Regions from separate parts of the Homo sapiens genome. Here regions 2, 3, 4, 5, 6 and 7 are each linked to region 1. Evidence: promoter capture Hi-C in 16 types of primary human blood cells and fetal thymus (Javierre and others, 2016). All regions are on one chromosome and are shown on one strand. The core of a region is centred on a gene start or on the middle of the fragment in contact, and the rest is flanking DNA. Distances in the headings are between cores, read along the strand shown.

What was found. Contacts are between HindIII fragments. The CHiCAGO score rates a contact against its expected background, and 5 or more counts as called.
Region 2: a fragment that was not itself captured here is called in contact with the fragment with the promoter of DHX29 in region 1 in 1 of 17 cell types (monocytes); the score reaches 5.0 in monocytes.
Region 3: a contact is called between a fragment that was not itself captured here and the fragment with the promoter of DHX29 in region 1, in 3 of 17 cell types (monocytes, total B cells and non-activated CD4 T cells). The highest score is 7.0, in monocytes.
Region 4: a fragment that was not itself captured here is called in contact with the fragment with the promoter of DHX29 in region 1 in 3 of 17 cell types (monocytes, naive CD8 T cells and total CD4 T cells); the score reaches 6.9 in monocytes.
Region 5: a fragment that was not itself captured here is called in contact with the fragment with the promoter of DHX29 in region 1 in 1 of 17 cell types (fetal thymus); the score reaches 5.2 in fetal thymus.
Region 6: a contact is called between a fragment that was not itself captured here and the fragment with the promoter of DHX29 in region 1, in 4 of 17 cell types (monocytes, total B cells, total CD8 T cells and 1 more). The highest score is 7.8, in monocytes.
Region 7: a fragment that was not itself captured here is called in contact with the fragment with the promoter of DHX29 in region 1 in 1 of 17 cell types (fetal thymus); the score reaches 5.2 in fetal thymus.

What each region holds. Positions count from the first base shown.
Region 1 is chr5:55,306,383-55,309,059 of GRCh38, reverse strand. DHX29 (DExH-box helicase 29) reads left to right here and starts at 1,366. Exons shown (of 27, transcript NM_019030.4): 1 at 1,366-1,673. The coding sequence starts at 1,487. It overlaps MTREX (Mtr4 exosome RNA helicase), which reads right to left and starts at 1,071. Exons shown (of 27, transcript NM_015360.5): 1 at 913-1,071. The coding sequence starts at 1,046. LOC124900979 (a long non-coding RNA gene) reads left to right here. Exons shown (of 2, transcript XR_007058774.1): 2 at 623-911. RefSeq lists enhancers at 818-1,297, 1,438-1,697. The HindIII fragment of the contact is 7,705 bases long and covers 1-2,677 here.
Region 2 is chr5:57,206,635-57,209,311 of GRCh38, reverse strand. All of the region lies in intron 2 of GPBP1 (GC-rich promoter binding protein 1), which reads right to left. Among named protein-coding and RNA genes, the nearest start is that of GPBP1, 34 kb to the right of the region's middle. The HindIII fragment of the contact is 3,262 bases long and covers 1-2,677 here.
Region 3 is chr5:56,954,327-56,957,003 of GRCh38, reverse strand. No RefSeq gene overlaps it. Among named protein-coding and RNA genes, the nearest start is that of MIER3, 3.5 kb to the right of the region's middle. The HindIII fragment of the contact is 1,830 bases long and covers 452-2,281 here.
Region 4 is chr5:56,923,047-56,925,723 of GRCh38, reverse strand. It overlaps MIER3 (MIER family member 3), which reads left to right. Exons shown (of 13, transcript NM_001297599.2): 11 at 1,682-1,809; 12 at 1,891-2,033; 13 at 2,139-2,677. The coding sequence ends at 2,596. It also overlaps a transcript of SETD9 not described here. Among named protein-coding and RNA genes, the nearest start is that of SETD9, 15 kb to the right of the region's middle. The HindIII fragment of the contact is 1,098 bases long and covers 830-1,927 here.
Region 5 is chr5:56,899,346-56,902,022 of GRCh38, reverse strand. It overlaps LOC105378980 (a long non-coding RNA gene), which reads left to right and starts at 1,957. Exons shown (of 3, transcript XR_948347.4): 1 at 1,957-2,026. RefSeq lists an enhancer at 2,119-2,288. The HindIII fragment of the contact is 7,054 bases long and covers 1-2,677 here.
Region 6 is chr5:56,872,854-56,875,530 of GRCh38, reverse strand. It overlaps MAP3K1 (mitogen-activated protein kinase kinase kinase 1), which reads right to left. Exons shown (of 20, transcript NM_005921.2): 9 at 2,526-2,677; 10 at 221-499. Among named protein-coding and RNA genes, the nearest start is that of SETD9, 35 kb to the left of the region's middle. The HindIII fragment of the contact is 256 bases long and covers 1,249-1,504 here.
Region 7 is chr5:56,844,796-56,847,472 of GRCh38, reverse strand. The region is part of intron 1 of MAP3K1 (mitogen-activated protein kinase kinase kinase 1); the gene reads right to left. Among named protein-coding and RNA genes, the nearest start is that of MAP3K1, 31 kb to the right of the region's middle. The HindIII fragment of the contact is 1,893 bases long and covers 435-2,327 here.

The DNA.
Region 1 (2,677 bases), core at 117-2,616:
TTGAACTTTTATAACACTTAATTGTATATATCATTCATTTTAAGTTAACGACCTCCTCACCTATACTGTAACTCTTTAATGGGTACCTGTTCTCTTTCCCTACACCGAAAATTCCTTGAGAGCAAAATCATGTCTAATTTAATTTCAAGCATCTATTGGGTATCTGGCCCCACAATGCCAAGAGTATATTTTGTTGATTGTTAATTAATCATCTTACTTTATTTAATACAAGTAATAGCTTTTCCTTGTTCTACTATAAACAGATCTGTACACTTTCTGGTGGCTGTATGCACCAGTCTAAACATATGGGTAGGGTCCAGTAATTTTTAAATTTTTTCTCAATAAACTCACGATAGCTACCATTTATTAGTGATAGCTAGCTAACCACTGTTAGGCACTTTACACGTGTATCTCATTGAATCCTCATATCCACCAGTGGTAGGCACTATTATCTCCATTTTACGGAAGAGAAAACTACTACATCTTGGAGATTAAATGTCTCTCCCTTCTCATGTTATTATCTGCCCTTTCCCCTCCAAATCAATTCATATCATTTTTTCTAAACCTTTTCACCTTTTACTCAACTAATCATTCGTTTTGTTTATTAACGACTATGTGCCAGGTGTTGTGCTGATGCAGGAGACAACCGCGAAGATGGGGACAGAATCAGTAACATCGACGTAAGGGAATTGAAGCAGAAGATCACGCTGCCTGCAGACACCAGGAAACGCCAAGACCCCCCTTCCACGAACCAACATTCTTCCACCCTCTCCAACTTTTTTCTGGAACCCCTTCACTTCCAACGCCACTCAATGTACACTTCACTTTCTCGTGCTCTTCCTAAGAGAGTAGTGTTTTCTTCCTCCCCACCGAGAAAAAAAATAAAAGCAACAACTGGAACTTCTTCCTTACCCTGCCTTGTCTGCAGACCCTGGAGGCCCCTTCCATTTCCCCTTGTCCTTTTCCTTGTCTTTTTTGGTTCCCGCCGCAGTGGTCGAGTCGCCCTCGAACACGCTGAACAGCTCATCTCCGAATGCGTCCGCCATTTTTGGGAGCAGTGAGAGCAAATCTCCCTCCTACCCACGATGCCCCGCGACCGAAGACAGTGACGTCTCGTGAAGGCTCAACAGTGGCCCGCAGGAGACAAAAGTAGTCGAGTCGCGCAGCCGACAAAAATGTTCCCCTGACTTTTTTTTTTTTTCCTGCTTTTCTTTCCTTTCCTTTCCGACCTAAAGTGGATAAGCTGCTCAGTGGATAAAGAGCGAGGGCGGCGCGTGGCGCCTGGCGTGTGGCAGGCAGCTGGCGACTCAAGGAGGCGGAGCCTGCTGAATTCGACCAATTGCGAGGCAGCGGTCGCCCCGGCCCGAGAAGCCCGGATCGAAGCGCAGGGTGGCAGCCCCGGAGCCGGGGAATGTGAAGAGCTCTCGGCTGTGCAGTGGTACCGTCGGGGCCTGGGCCGCGAAGGATCTTCTGCCACAGCTGCAACATGGGCGGCAAGAACAAGAAACACAAGGCTCCAGCGGCCGCGGTGGTCCGGGCCGCCGTGTCTGCTTCCAGAGCCAAATCTGCCGAGGCTGGAATTGCCGGGGAGGCCCAAAGCAAGAAGCCAGTGTCCAGGCCGGCCACCGCTGCCGCTGCCGCTGCCGGCTCCAGGGAGCCCCGTGTCAAGCAAGGTACGAGAGGTCCCCCAGCCCCTGGCTGTCTGCCCTGAGACCTTGCTGCTTGTCCTGAGGAAAGGGCCTTAGAACCCGGGAGGAGCTTCGGGCCCAACATTTCTATTTCCCAACACTCGAGCTGCTACCTCCCCATGGGGTGGCCTTGTTTTAGATTAAAAAAGTCTAAGCTCTTTGGGCCTCCAAAATTCTGACAGTAGCCCTGTTGCAGCCTGGCATTTCTCTTTTAACTCACACTTCTCCCCCTTCTAAAAACAAAATAATTGCATTAGCTCCTGTTTCAGCAGGAATTCATCCTGAGCACCATCTCAGCTAGCTAGGCTAACGCAAAGACGAGTACTGAGTGGAGTTCCTGACCTCCTGGTGCCAGCCAGCCCCATTTTCTGTCAGTTTTTCATATCATTTTCAGCAACAATCTAGTGTCTCCATGCGTTCTGGAAAAATCAATACTTAATAAAAATTACAGGACTTACACACTGGTTACACACTGGTTACGTGTAATCTATTGTAAAATTGTCTGCCCTCGTTTCTGCCGCCATGCAGTTTTGCTTACTGTACAAATTGATTTGACAACTCAACTTATAGATGGCCGATTCCTGCTGCAGATGAGCAGGCCACATATTACGGTTGAGCTCAAAAGATGAACAATTACATTCTGTTGTGTTCTTCTCGGGTTGTTTGCTTGTACTTATTGGAGTATTCAAGAAATATTTGCTGAGCATTTATGTGTATATATGCAAATATTTAGTATGTGTCTGATAAGATGTGAGGAATGTGATGAGCAAAAAGAGACATCACCTCATGGAGCTTGCCAGTCTAATGTCAGAGATAGGTATTAACTAATAGGTAACGCACACAGACATATTTATAGCCTTATAATAGATAAGTGCCACAAAGAAAAGCCAGGGAAGACAGTTTAACAGGGTAATCTAATTTTTCTCGGGATGAGCAGGTATCATGGATGGTGTCTGGAAATGTAACAGTTAAGCTGAGATGAGGAGAAT
Region 2 (2,677 bases), core at 112-2,611, 1.9 Mb before region 1:
CGTATTTTTTTAAATGGCATCCAAATTGGGAAGGAAAAAGTAAAATTATTCCTATTCACAGATTACATGATCTTACATAAATTCTAAAGAGTCCAGAAAAAATATGTATTAGAGCTAATTAAATTCAGGAACGCTGCCAAGATAGAAGATCAACACACAAAAACAGCTGTTTGTGTATACACTATTAACAATCCAAAAAAGAAATTAGGAAAACAACTCAATTCGCAGTAAAATCCAAAAGCATAAAATACCTATAATAAATAAATATAACCAAGAAAATGTTAAGACTTGCACACCAAAAACTATTAAGACAGTGCTGAAAGAAATGTTAAAAGACCTAAACAGAAAGACATCCCTGGCCCAGCACAGTGGCTCAAGCCTGTAATCCCAGCACTTTGGGAGGCCCAGGCAGGTGGATCACATGAGGTCAAGAGTTTGAGACCAGGCTGGCCAACATGGTGAAACCCCATCTCTGCTAAAATAAAGTATTAGCTGGGCATGGAGGCAGGCACCTGTAATCCCAGCTACTTGGAAGGCTGAGGTAGGAGAATCGCTTGAACCCAGGAGGCAGAGGTTGCAGTGAGCCGAGATCACGCCATTGCACTCCAGCCTGGACGACGGGGTGAGACTCTGTCTCAAAAAAAAAAAAAAAAAAAGAAAAACAAAAGACAGATATCCCTGTGTTTGAGGACTGGGAAACTCAACACTGTTAAGACAACAACACTACCCAAACATGATCTACAGATTCAACGTAATCTCTATTAAAATTCCAACACCCGGCCAGGCTACAGTGGTTCACGCCTATAATCCCAGCACTGTGGGAGGACAAGGTGAGCAGATCACTTGAGCTCAGTGGCTCAGGACCAGCCTGGGCAACATGGTGAACCCCGTCCCTACTAAAAATAAAAAAATCAGCCAGGCATGGTGGCTCGTACCTGTGGTCCCAGCTACTTGGGACACTGAGGCGGAAGGATTGCTTGAGCCCGGGAAGTGGAGGTTGCAGTGAGCCAAGATCACACCACTGCACTCCAGCCTGAGCAACAAAATGAGACTCTATTGATATGGAGGGAGGCAAGGAAGTGCTGGGAAGAAAAGGGCATGGTCCCTGGCTAGGGCTCCAATCCCCTGAGAAAGAGTAAGACCCTACTGATACAGAAGTGTGCAGGCAAGCGCTGGGAAGGGAAGGGCATGGTCCCTCGCGAGGGCTCCATCCCCGGTTCTGTGCCCACGGATCTAGGTGAGGACAGGCATTTCTGTTTTCCTGACCAAATGATGCATTTCCCAAGACCACTCTGCCAGTCACACCCCCATCGTGTGCCTATAAAACCCTCAGAGACTCTAGTAGGCAGAGACACAAGTGGCTGGACGTCATCGAGAGGGACATATCGGCGGAAGAACACACAAATAGCTGGATGTCCAGGGAAGCATGCCAGTGGAATACCACACTGACAGAAAGCAGGCTGGCAGGCCATCGACCAAAGAAGGGCATGAAGTTTGGCTGGGTTTGGCTGGTGCGGTCAGAGGAGAGCCCAGGTCACTGAGCTGCAGGACTCCAGGGGAAAACACCCTCCCACTCCATCTCCCTCCTGGCTTCCCATCCATCTGCTGGAAACTTCCACTCAATAAAACCTTGCACTCGTTCTCCAAGCCCACGTGTGATCTGATTCTTCCCATACACCAAGGCAAAAAAGCCCTCTGTCCTTGCGATAAGGCAGGGCATCTAACTGAGCTAACACAAGCCGCCTATGGATGGCTAGACTAAAAGGGCACCCTGTAACACATGCCCACTGGGGCTTCAGGAGCTGTAAACATTCACCCCTAGGTGCTGCCGTGGGGTCGGAGTCCCACAGCCTGCCCTGTCTGCATGCTCTCCCTAGAGATTTGAGCAGTGGGGTGCCAAAGAAGCAAGGCACACCCCCATCACATGCCCTGCAAAGGGGATAAGAGAACCTTTCACTAAGTTTCACTATTTCAAAAAAGAAAAAAAATCCAACACTCTCTTTTGTACAGAAATAAAAAAGGCTATTCTCAATTTCCTTTGGAAGTGCGAGGGGCCCTAAACATCCAAAAACAATTCAGAAAAAGAATAAAGTTACAGAACTCACACTTCCCTATTTCAAAACTTACTGTAAAGTAACAGTGAGCTGGCCATTTGTAGATCTTCTTAGGAAAAATATTCAAGTCCTTTGCCCATTTTGATTATTTTTCGAGACAAAGTCTCACTCTATCACCCAGGCTGGAGTACAGTGGCACTACCATGACTCAATGCAGCCTCCACCACCTGGGTGCAAACGACCCTACCACCTCATCCTCCCAAGTGGCTGGGAATATAGGCATGCCCCACCACACCAAGCTAATTTTAAAAATATTTTTCGTAGAGATGGGGTCTACGTTGCCCAGGTTGGTCTCAAACTCCTGGAATCAAGCAATCCTCGCACCTTGGCCATAGTGATCAAAACTGTAGTATGGCCTAAGAACAGACATATAAACCAGAAATAAGCCCACACATTTATATCCAAGTTATTTTCAACAAGAGTGCTAAGATGATTCAATACGGAATTGTCTTTTCAAAAAAACAGACTGGACAACTAAATAGCCATTGGACCCCCCTACCCAAACCATATACAAAAATAAACTCAGCTGGGTGCAGTAGCTCACGCCTGTAATTCCAGCACTT
Region 3 (2,677 bases), core at 117-2,616, 1.6 Mb before region 1:
CTTTTTTGGTAATCTTCATCAAAATTGAAGTGAATTATAGTGATGAGCTATAATAGCTTTGTAAAAAATCCTCTTTCAAGTCAGGTAGCTTTTAACTCTTAGCTTTCAACAAAGTTGAAGGAACACATTTAAAACATCAGCGTATAGATCATTAAAAATAATGTTTGATAGAAGATCATAACATGATGTATTACTAAGGAGATATTACTAAGGAGATCAACAAATTGAGTGATGGTTTAGTAACAAAACCCTTCCATTTCTATCTATTTGTGTATGAATATGGTTTCTCAAACCTTACTTCTGTATAAATAAAGACTAAGAATAAAATTGATGTTAAACTCCCATTCTAGCATTAAGTAATATTCATCCATGGGTACATGAATTAATTTTTAAAGATCCTATTCATCTTATCAATAGATTGATTTCCAATGCAATTTTTGTTCAAAAAGCTTTACTCAAAACTTGTAATACATGTATATTGCTTAGATCAAATGTAAATTAGTAGTAATTGTACTGATAATTCAATCTGGAGGAAAATTATTTCTCTTTACTATCAATTTACAAGGATATTTTTGTTGCAGATAAAGATTGTAGGGTATCAACAAAAGACTTCTAAGCATAAAGCATATTACACTTCTTTGGAGAAAGTAGAATGGGAATATGAGTTCAAGGAGAAAAAGGAATCATGTAAAATTTCATACCATTCAAGAAACATGTTTATGTCTTTTTAAAAGAATAATGAAATATCAAATTGTTATGGTATTTAGATTCCATTGCATACATTTTAAGTGTTATATAATGGCTTTATTTTTAAATGACCATCATTACGAAAGGTAAGTACATCCTTTGCAGCCATTTAAATTTATAATGACAAAATTAGAAGTCAATTGGAATACATAAGAAGGGATAGAGTTATTACAAATTCTTTTGAGGATGTTCCTGCAATTTAAAGTCATTGACTTGGAAGTTCCAATTGGGTATGCTTGCACAGCTATGTCAGCCTGATGCATCCATCTCATTTTAAGAATGGCCCTGACTCACAGGCTGGATATATGTTCATGTATATGGACCAAGTTCCCTTCTTAGAAACGAACTGAAACCTTTTTTGAACTGTGAGAACTCTCTCTTTTTTAAAGTTACCATGCAGATCATCTTTCTTTTGTTAAGAATCTTTTGTTTAGGCAAAACTTACTATGATCAGTTAGCTTTCTCAGAGAGTGGCCATTCATTCCAACAAAAAATATTTAATTGAATATCACGCAGGAGAAGTAGATAAATTTAGAAAAATGCAAGTAGTTTGGCCTGATGCTGGGTCTAACTGTTGGCATTACAGTCTTACAAGCTATGCTGAGAAGTAACGCTAAGATGATGTTCTAGATCAGGTTCGCAAACTGGAAGCTCCCAGGCTAAATATGATTTACTTAACATGATTTATTTGATCTACACTGTGTTTAAATTTTTAAAAAATTAGTTGACAAAATTTTACGACCAGGAGATATAACATAAAAATTCAGTTTTCCAGCTGTTCTTGGAAAATTGAAACTGGAAACATTGGGCCAGTAAGCTGAAACTGACCCAAGTAGTGCATAGTGGTTTCCATCTTTAAGTAGGACACGTCTCCAAATTTGCTATTACTCCTGCGTTTGTCTACACTAGCCTGCTTCACTCATTCATTATGCCTGCCTGACTACTATGGGCATTTGAGATTGAGACATTAACTTTGGTTTATTAGTTTCCCATGGGTTAGATGGAATCTGCAGAAGCCTAAATATCTATGTTGCATTACTGTGGCCCCATTAACTGCTTTCAGTAGGTCATTCATATTGTGCTCTCAACTTTCATAGACAGTTACCAAAAGAATTTGTATATTTCTCCTACATTTGTATGCTTCTCCAATGAGAAGCAAGCAACTGATTACATTCACCTTTTTTGCTTTGGCTGCCAGAAAGCTCTACATTTATGGCTTAACTATTGTATTGTGTTAATACCTCATAACCTGCAGATCCTTGTCCTTACTTTTTCTTTGGTGTTAACCTCCTAGTCTAGTTAGTTTCGTTGGTCCTCATTTTTTTATATATGTTTTTTTATTTTATTGTATGAATTTACTGGAAGCCTCTAAAATTACATGTTTATAAATAAAGCTGTATTGATTTATTTCCTTTCTAAAGATGGTTGGAGGATCTATGACATTTTGGTTCTCCTTAGGAGGTTACTATGGTTTTTAGTTTTCCTTGCTCACATATCCATTTACCACCTATGGAAATTACTTAGATTGTAAGCTTTTGGGGGACAAGGACATTTTTATGGTGGTCCCACAGTGCCCAGCATCTAGCACTTTCTATATAATGCCCTGTATTGCATAGTTACAGGATAATAAAAGTAAAAAGTAATAGTATTTTAATTTAAACTCCTTGGGTCACAAGGATTTTTAATCTGTACTGACTCATGAAAGTCTTGTCAATCAGAAAGAATGAGAGCTCCATCTACATATAGACTTTACACACTTTATCATAAAGGAATGTGTTATGTAAGACTGAGTGATAAACTTTCTCTAGTGATCAGGTGGGGGAAAGTAGCTCTGCTACCTTCAACTGCTAATAAATTTAGCTTCATTTATCTTTGTCTGAATCCTTATTTAATACCATGGACTCAGACTTCCTACACTACGTTCTATAAT
Region 4 (2,677 bases), core at 129-2,628, 1.6 Mb before region 1:
GCTGGGATTTTGATTGGGTTTGTGCTAAATCGGTAGATCAAGCTAGGAAGAACTGACGTCTTAACAATGAAGTGTCTTCTTATCCATGAACATAGAATATTTCTTCGTTAAGTTCTTCTTTGATTTCTTTAATCAGAGTTTGGTAGTTTTTCTCATACAGATTTTGCATATATTTTGTTATATTTATACCCAAGTATTTTAATTTTGGGGTGCTAATGTAAATGGTCTTGTGTTTTAAATTTCAAATTTCAATCGTCATTGCTGTTATATAGGAAAGCAGTTGACTTTTGTGTATTAACCTTGTCTCCTGAAACTTTGCTGTAAGTGCTTATTAGTTACAGGCGATTTTTTGTTGATTCTTTGGAGTTTTCTACGTAGACAGTCATGTCACCTGTAAACAGAGACAGTTTTATTTCTTCCTTCCCAATCTGTATACTTTTTATTTCTTTTTCTTGTCTTACTGCATTAGCTAGACCTTCCAGTATTGATGTTGAAAATTTCACACTTTCTGTATGTTTGAAAATCTAATGTTTCTCAAAGATGAGATAAAGCGTATAATTTAAGACATTTTTAAAGAAGTCTGGATTGTCCTTTTAAGTAAAAAAAACCATCAGTTTTGTAATGACTTATGAAATTTACTCTATCCATTCATTCCGTAAACAGTTATGTCCTTCCACTTCACTTACCAGACATTGTTTTAGGCACTAGAGATACAACAGTGAATAAGACAGAAAAGGTCTGTAGCCCCACGAAGCCTGCATTCTCTGCGAAGACTTATAGTTAATGATGTTTATTGAAAGGTATACTGTATTTCTTGGTTTAAAAAGCTTATTCCCATATTAGTAATCTTATATCACAACTTACTCAGGAGTCAGGTTAGAGATACTGAAACTTCTTTATCGGGTACTGATTAAGCAAGGGAGAAAGCATTTATTGGATAAGGATGAAGAATTTTGTTCATACATCTGAATTCATATCTGTGGCTGTATGTGGTTAGAGGAACCCTGGTTTGGGTGTGGAGCCAAGGTGGTGAGGCTCAAATTTTATTGTTGTTGTTTCCAAAATCTGTTGGATCTAAAAACCAAACATACTGGAGGGAGAAAGCCCTGCCTTTAGCTAGCAAGTCATCTTAAATTCCAGATGCTGTAGACCGTTGGTCCATTTGCCAAGGGTTCTTAATCTCTTTTGGAAAGTGGAACTCAAATCTGATGAGGCTGCATTCCTTCTCTCCAGAAAAATATACCTAAATATAATTTTGTGAATTAATAGATCTCAATGAAATCCATTTATGGACCCCTCAGGGGTTAGTTAATCCAAAGTTAAGAACCCTCACTGTAGTCAAAATCACAGAGCTCAGTAAAGAAAAGTAAAGAATGCTAGTGTTTAAGATTTTCAGTGAAGGTGTAAGATAATTTCTGGATACACACTTGTTTTATAAACTAATACATTCTGATTTTTTTAAAAAAAAAACCTTGGGCTTTCGAAAATGGCCTCATTATTAAATGTAAAGGCATTCCACTAATCAAAGTGTTCAGAACTTTATAATTTATTAAAAGTGTTCAGAACTATATAATGGGAAAATAAGACCCATGGATTGAAGTTGTAGTGTTGTGGAAAAGAAAAGTTGCTTAAAAAAATGGTTGAGTTTGTTGGTTTTTTAAAAATTCAACTTTTTCATTAGGTGAGAACTAGGACAGTTGCTGAGTGTGTAGCATTCTACTATATGTGGAAGAAATCTGAACGTTATGATTACTTTGCTCAACAGACAAGATTTGGGAAAAAAAGATATAACCATCACCCTGGAGTTACGTAAGTACTGTGGCCTTGCCTTCAAAGACTTACTTTTAACTGTAATATATAGTCATAAAATTACTGGGGTGTGTTTTTCAGGGACTATATGGATCGTTTAGTAGATGAAACAGAAGCTTTGGGTGGGACGGTAAATGCTTCAGCCTTAACTTCTAACCGGCCTGAGCCTATTCCTGATCAACAGCTAAACATTCTCAACTCCTTCACTGCCAGTGACTTGACAGGTAAAATGAAGACCTTTCTGCATTTAGTACAGTTTGTTGCAAAATTGTGTCCTCTGTTTGATGTCATAGGACCACTTACTTAAACAATTTTCCATTCCTTTTTAGCTTTGACCAACAGTGTAGCAACCGTCTGCGACCCCACAGATGTGAATTGTTTGGATGATAGCTTTCCTCCACTGGGCAACACACCCCGTGGACAAGTTAATCATGTGCCTGTTGTAACAGAAGAGTTACTCACCCTGCCCAGCAATGGGGAAAGTGATTGTTTTAATTTATTTGAGACTGGATTTTATCACTCGGAGCTAAACCCTATGAACATGTGCAGTGAAGAGTCAGAGAGACCAGCAAAAAGATTGAAAATGGGCATTGCCGTCCCTGAATCCTTTATGAATGAAGTTTCTGTAAATAACCTGGGTGTGGACTTTGAAAATCACACACATCACATCACCAGTGCCAAAATGGCTGTTTCTGTGGCTGACTTTGGCAGTCTCTCTGCCAACGAGACCAATGGTTTCATCAGTGCCCATGCTCTGCATCAGCACGCGGCCCTACACTCTGAGTGACCTGAGTGAGGATCCCGGAACTGCGTGTGCAGCACCAGTAAACTTGAGGGGAGCTATCAGGTTTGCATAGTCTTTCACTGG
Region 5 (2,677 bases), core at 1-2,500, 1.6 Mb before region 1:
AAAATAATTTTGTGCTGCAGGACCTAAAATATTGCATAAAAAGGAGGAGAAAATGATCTCTGCTAGTCTTTGTATGAATTAGCAAAAGGCACCTTTTCCTTTGGCCACTTTACTGCCATCGACTGTAAAAAAATGTAATAAATATACAAATCTATTAGGACTATACTGTGCAGCATGCTCCATATAGGTATGTAGTACACCAGCTAGTTTTGGCAGTCTTGGGAATCGACTGGAAGGTTCTGTGGCAGCACTTCTTGACTGCTCTGAGAACAAAAAGTTTGAAAACCACTGGTGTGAGGGAAGGTGCAGAGGTGGGGTGGAACACAATGGATTCAGAGAGCAGGAATGTAACGAAAGGAGTAGAACAGAAATTTTGTATTACGGATAGTAGGAAATAAAGATTTAGGCAGAATAAGGTCAGACCATTAAAAAACATGGACATTTGAGGTAGTCAGCAGTAGATAGTCATTGAATGTTCTAGTAGCAGAGTACTAGCTGGAAATAGAGTTTGAAAAGCTCAGAGGAACAGTAGTTGGCAGGATGCATGGATGGATAGATGCATGGATGGATATGGATGGATGGATGGACAGATGGATGGATGGATGGATGGATGGATGGATGGATGGATGGATGGATGGTTGGATGGATGGATGGATGGATGAATGGATGGATGACCCAGCCAGCTGAGAGTAGAGTGGTTCTGAGAACAAGAGACCAGGAAAGGGCATCAAGTATCTTGCTACAGCCTCTCCTTTTGTTGTAGACTGTTAGGAGCGGGTAGAGGGACTAGGAATACCCTGTTATGCAATAGATAAGCATAGAATCTAGGTTTTAGAATGGAAAAATGCAACTCTTAGTGATAGTTTTGAGTTTTTTTCAGTATTCTAAGGGGGAACACTGAGATTTCTGCTCTATTCCTGAGGAAGGGGTGAGATAACCTTTGATTTTCAGATATCTGGCAGGCAGTGCAAATTAAAAGTTTTACTCTGCTGCCCTCTTCTGGAGGTTGCATAATTGCCCAAATAATTCTTCCACGTTGTTCCCTTCACTTTTGCTCCTAGACAGACTTCTGGACAAAGTAGGCTATGCACATCATCTCCATGACCATGCTTGCCCAGCTATGATCATGTTTCCTTCTAGTCGGCTTCACTGGAATGGTCCTTGCCATTCACCTTGTGAGACTTAAGTTCTTATCTTACCTGACGTCTGTGGCTTTTGAAATTACTGACCTTTCTTTAAAACATTCTCCTCTCTTGATTTCCCTGACCCTGTGCGTTTCTAGTTTCTGAAGATGAGCTCTTGTCTCCTTTATCTATTCTGCTTCTTGTCTATGCCTTAAATCTTGGTCTTCATCGGGGTTCTGGTCTTGGTTTTTCCTCACTGAACATATTCTCCTGAGTATTCTCCCCCGTTTCCCTTGTGACTCATTGTGGTAGATGCTGTAGAGTTGCCTGCTTGATGTCCATTCTTCTCAGACTTCCTTATAGCTAGGGAGTTCTAGTCAAATGAAATGTGAGTGAAAATCTCGTAAGCATTTTAAGGAAAGTTTCTGTCTTCCTGACACAGGCACTACCTTTTTATTCTCCTTTTTCTTTCCCTGATTGTAGATTGGAGATCAGAGTTGGAGCCTGAGGGTGAAAGCCTCATGCTGAGAAGAGTGGAGCGGGAAGATAAAGCATGGCAACATTGATGACACCCTAGGCCTAATACACCAGCCCTGACCTGCTTACCTTCTCTCATTTGTAGGCTATGTAGTCCAGTCACTTTTACGTGCAGCTGAGTACAACCCTAAATGATATATCAATCGCTTCAGTGACCATTTATATGTCAATAGCTTGCACATTTATTATTTGCAACCAAAGTATCTCTGGAGGTACTCATGTGCATATACAGTATTACTGGAAACTTCTACTTGGATATCCTCCAGGCAACTCGAATATTTTAACATGGCCAAAGCACATCTTGTCCTCCAACCTACTCCCCCTGTGATTTCCTTGTATCAGTAATGGCACCAGCGTTCACACAGGTGACCAAGCCTGGATAGCAGACGCATCCTCGATGTCATTCTCCATCCTCCGCATACCCTTCCCCCAAGATCATTTCTACAATCTTTCAATTCTGCTGTTTAATATCGCTCAGATTTGTCTCTTCCTCCTCATTCCCATGATGCTACCTTCACCTAGGTTCTGGATACTGCAATTGCCTTCTGACTTTCTCTCTGCCTTTTGTACTGGCCCATGTAATTCTTTCTTCAAGGTACTGCAAGGGTGCTCTTTCTAACGCACAAATATCGTCATGCCACTCTCTGCCAAAGATTTTTCAATATCTCCCCATCTTTTTATTTCTCCTCCTATCCTTTCTCTCCATTTCACCCTAGTTACAACCCTCATCCTCTCAGTATGTCTACATAGATGTTGAGAAATCTTATTAAGTAAATTGACCTTAAGGGAAGCTATCACTTAGTTATCTCAAAAATAAACTCTAACAGGAATCTCAGCATTGTGGGAAAAAGAATTTTGGGGCATGAAGGATTTATCCCTTGCCACATCAGCTTAGGCTGGTTTTACCTCTACAGATGTAATAAGTTACAACCTAGGGCCATGAGGCATGGGGTATAGAGATGTCAGGTTGCATACCAACTAATGAGACTGGCTTCAGTCATCGATGGAGTTCTTTT
Region 6 (2,677 bases), core at 127-2,626, 1.6 Mb before region 1:
AGTAAAACAGTTATATAAGAAACCTTGGACATCATAAAAATCAGTAAAATTCAAATAAACAAAACAAAAGCTGTAATTTCCTGGAATTATGGAATAAAAATAAAATTTGGATTTTCCAAAATTAGGTAAAGTAGCTTTATTGTATCTTAAAAACACTATCTACGAACCATCAAAAAACCCCAAACCCATAATGATATGATTATGGAATAAAGCTACTTACTAAAGCAGCAACGTACACTTTGTAGACAGGGTCAGCACAGACCATTGACAGAACGCTGCAGCATGCCTCCACCACATCTCCTGAGATACTGGTCTGGGAAGACCCACTGGTGGCTCCCCCACTCGGGCTGCTTCCACTGCTGCCCCCAGAATTTCCAGTGCTCTCCCCATTTGCCAACAGCAGGGCCCCACTGACATCATGGGAAAGACGCCTGAGGGCCATCTCTCTCACATTCCAGTTTCTAGAAAATAAGCAGCCAACGAGTTCCATTCCAAACACCTGTATCAAACACACACGATGAATTCAATGTAAAGAAAAGCTTATGGACCCAGAGCATTTTGAGTTTAGCATCATTTTTGATTACTACGTAAAAACTGGACATTTCTGAAATCTTTACCATCCTTCACAACTTCAAATATATCCAGCCACTTAAGCATCATAAGGAAGAATTTTATACTCAAGTTTAACTGATAATTATCCAAAGTCATTAATATTTATTAGCTCAGGTAAAATTAATAATAAGCTCCATTAAGTCACTAGATGGCTATACATACATTCTATGCCTCTACTGTCCCACATGCTTACCAAAACGCCAAAAAACTGTGAAAACCTCAACTCTGTATTCATATTAAGGTAGTTTAAAGAGAAAAACTGGAGCAAGATTAAGAAAACAAACAAACAAACAAAAAACAAATCAAAAAAAGCACCAGGAGAAGGTTTCAAGAGATATAGAGTATTTCTCTTACAGACAAGAGCAATAAGCAAAACACATTTAATTGGTTTTTGTCTGTATAAAAAGGTTTAAAAAACTAGACAAAACAGGTAGGACTGTAAAACGAATGGAGTGGACAAATCAAACAACTGAAGAAAAAATGCTTGTGTTCGAGTAAGCAAAGGATAAATGTAGACGTAGAATTATAGTATATGCTGTTATCGTCGTCAATACCATGCCCCAAAAGCCAGAGTCCCTACAGTGAGGAAAGGGTGAATGGTCTTGACATTATGGGCCAATTAGCTAAAAGTAAGCTTAATACCTAAGATAATTCATTATGTGAAAAATGCCTAAATATTAAAGATGAATAAACACAACTTTTGAAAAACAGATCATAACATACTTATTTACATATGTTTTGTTATAAAGGGATATTATGGGAGAATGAACCAACTAGAATATAGTGAGCTTCTGGTACTGTTAAGTAGTGTACCACTACCTATGTTTTAACTGTCTTACCTAACATGCTTAATAAAAAGCTAGGAATGTAGAGCCTAGTCTGACCTAAAGCTTAGGCAAAACAAACTAGACCATATGCTTGAAAGAATGAACTCTAACAGCTCAGAATCAACTTGAGAGTTCTTTGATGGGTCATGAAAGGGCAGGTGAGGGCCTATGTTCATTAATAGTTCATTAAATTTCATTAATGAACTAGGTACAAGAATGTGTTTAATATTTTTGCAGATTTTATTAGATTCATAAATGGGTTGCTAATATGCTAAGAGAATTCCAAAGCTGCAGGACTGTAATGGTCACAAAAGAAAAATGTAACAAATCCTAATGATATATAAGCTCAATGTGTTAATGCACCTGTTCACAAATTTAATTCAACAGAATTTAACAGATTATTGAAAATAATTATTTTACTTTATTATTGTCTACTGGAGACCCGTCTGGTTTTAGATCCTACATTTAAAAAATAATAGACTGAGCATTCAACAACCAAGAAAATCATTACAAACCAACTGACAAAAAAGCCCTACTTACTGAGGATGAAAAAACATTCAATCAGAAGAGATGGTAAAGGGATGGGAAACTGTTCTTACAAATAAAAATGATGAACTCAAGGTAACCATCACATATTTTTTTCTTATTCATCTCCTCTGCAATTATTAAGCACCCATTGTATGCCATTAGGATATGAAAAGAGAAATTAATTTTAAATGGCAGCAAATAAGAAACATGATAAAAATTCTTGGCAGGCACGGGGATTAAACATTGGGAAAAGTTAGCATTGAAGGGTTCTGGTTTCTATCCTTCTATCCTTGAATAACCCCGTATGTCCGTTAGTTCAGGAAGAGATGTTTCTAGATATGTGAAGTGAAACCACAAGAAGTTTTGAAGTTGAAGCTGTACAATAAGCAGTATAGTATTAATACCAAAAGTAACATTAAAATTTCCAGTGGAATGAAGGTCATGATGGAGGCAAGTAAAAGTGTTTTTTTAAATTATGAACAACTGAGGGAAGGAGACAAATACATTAATTGATCTATAAATATTTCTTTGAGAAATGAAAAACAAAGAACTACTTACCTGAATCCATGGCTCAGCTAAATCTTTGTAAGCAGGAGGGATTTGCTGAGTTCCATAATGAGTAAGGTTAAAATTGCTCTCTTGATTCCTTCGTGATCCAGCCAAAGGCTGCTGCTGTACGGTTTGCTGCTGTGCAGCTCTGAGGGAAGAAG
Region 7 (2,677 bases), core at 132-2,631, 1.5 Mb before region 1:
GACGCCCAACACAACGCCCAGCTAATTTTTGTATTTTTAGTAGAGATGGGGTTTCACCATGTTGGCCAGGCTGGTCTCAAACTCCTGACCTCAAGTGATCCACCCACTTCGGCCTCCCGAAGTACTGGGATTACAGGCATGAGCCACCACGCCCGACCAAGTCTTTTTTACTTTTAAACTAACATACAAACATTATGGATGTACTTCAACAGTCTCCAAAGTCACTGACATATTTAAGATAAAACACTAAGGCTAAACTTTCAGGTGGCCATGTTTAAATATGGATAAACATCATCAAACGAAAGGGGCTATATTCCTTGCAGCTGAAACCCAGATAAACACTAAGAAAAAGATAAAATGCAAAAAGGTTTTCTAAATCATCTCTTTACACCTGCCTAGTTCCAGAAAGAAAATAAGGCAGTAGTGTAAAAGCTTGGTTATGGTGTTTCTTTGGCACACTCATGTCTCTCAGAAATGTAGCTGGCAGATTCCATTAAAAACTACCACATTCAAGTTATTAATGTACCACAATAAATCAATCCAATACACATTACTAAGCACATCACTAATAGAATTGAGATGTTCTGTTCAAATTTGGAAAAAGAAAAGTTCTTTCTTCTAAATGTGTTAATAGATGAACAGAAAAATCAACAAATTTATACAATAATGAAACTAAATATGTACACTTTGTTAAGCCACGGAAACAATCATGAGCACTGACAGGTCAAGAAAACGTCAAACTGCAACGAAGTCAAAACTTGCCAGGAGGAAATATAATCCAAACAAGTCAAATACACATCAGAATTCGGAGAGGGGGACATGGAGATATAGCCATGCAGAAGTAATCAAGAATATGCAGTGACTCTTAAAATTGGTAGGGATTTTAAATAAATCTAAAAGAGATAAGACAAATCAAGTTAGTAAGCAAGTTAACTTGGTAGCAAATGAAAACTCTAGAAGACTAGCAATTTGAGTTAGCGAATGAAAATCCTAGAAGACTATCAATTTGAGTCAGGTACAATTATTTTTTAAAGAGCAGGTGAGGAGAAAAAGCAGGAGGTGAAGGAAGACTTGTTTTCAAGCGAACACCCTTGGTGTGTAGGCATAAAAGAAAACAAATTGGACTAGAATGAAGCCAATATGTTGTTAGTTCTATTGTGACCTAAGACTCAAGTTCAATGAAATCTGCTGACATATCACAAATTATGAACTATAATATGTGGGTAATATTTACATAGGCAAATGAAAATTGTAAAAATGGTCAGACCTGAACAGAAATATGAGTTTGGTGATTCTGTATGATTCATCATCTTAGAAAACATATAAAAACGTTAGTGACAGAAAAACAACATTGTTCTGCCATTTAAGACAACAAAACAAATGAATTGTAAAGTTACTGTCTGTCTTAGGAATATTTACTACTTAGACTAAATATTGCTTTAAAACACTTATATCACTCATCAGAGTAATCAGCTTTGTAACAGTACTTCTAAATACTAGGACTCTTTCACCTATCTCCCTGCGGGGAGAAACTCAGAACATCCATCAGGCTTAAGGTAAACTATGTTCTGAGCACCCAACAGAGGGAGTTTAAAATTAATATGGTCCCATTTCCCACTTGTTCCTTTCCAACAAAAACCCATAAAACCTTGTATTCTTTTGACATTCTGCGCTAAAAATTCCACTGTTTATTCTTTCCTTTGTTGTGTCCTTGGTACTTGAGGAAAAACCTTTAGAAACCTTTGGGGAAAAATGAAACATTGTGAGTATCCTCTTCCCTAATTGTTGAACACAGATCAGTAAGTAAGAAGGATGTTTTTAAAAACAAAACAAAACAGTTTTTGGCTAAACGTGTTTTTCCTTTTAAGAATCCCCCCTTGCTACTTGACAAATCTAGGGCTGGGAATGTCTACAAGACAACTGATGCATAAACCTAGAGAGACGTTACACTAGAGAAGTAGGTTGGAACTTCCTACACTACTACTGTGGGGGGAGGGGTGTTCTCAGCAAGGCCATGCATCCTGCCCTTATCTGGGGGCACTGGTACAGAATGCATGGCACAGTGAAATGAAAACCTCTGTTCCTTCACCATTTGGGTGTTCATTAAAAAGATCCCAAGTCAGTGTTACATGAAGGCTGCAGTGTATGTTTTCTCCTATGTTTACTTGTTACCTTTGGGGAAATGTGGCAGTGCAGTTTGAGTATACTTCTAAGTGGTCAACTCAACAGGGCTAGTACATACTTACGAAAGTGGTCTGTTAGTATATGTAGGTTATGGCATAATACAACTTACTATAATTCTTACCCCACTAACAAAATTTAAAGCTTCTGTATTTTAAGAAGTTATAGATATGTAATATTTTGAGTGAATACCTTCTATTTTAAAAAAGCCCTTAACTGTTTTTAATGCTCTGAGATTAAAGGAGAAGAGGGGATAACCCCGAATTAGCATACAAAGCCCTCTTACAGTCTTTGCTAGGAGAAGGATTTCTTTCAAAATTCTACAGAACAGCTAGTACTATACTATTTCCTTCCACCTGGTAAAAAGGCATGTTAACTGGGATGCTCAGAATGAGGAAGAATGACTTCCTGACAAATGCAGCTTTTCTTCTTTATGCTTTGAATGCTAGCAAACCACTCCGTTCAATGAATGCTGGCACACCTACCACAGATAAGC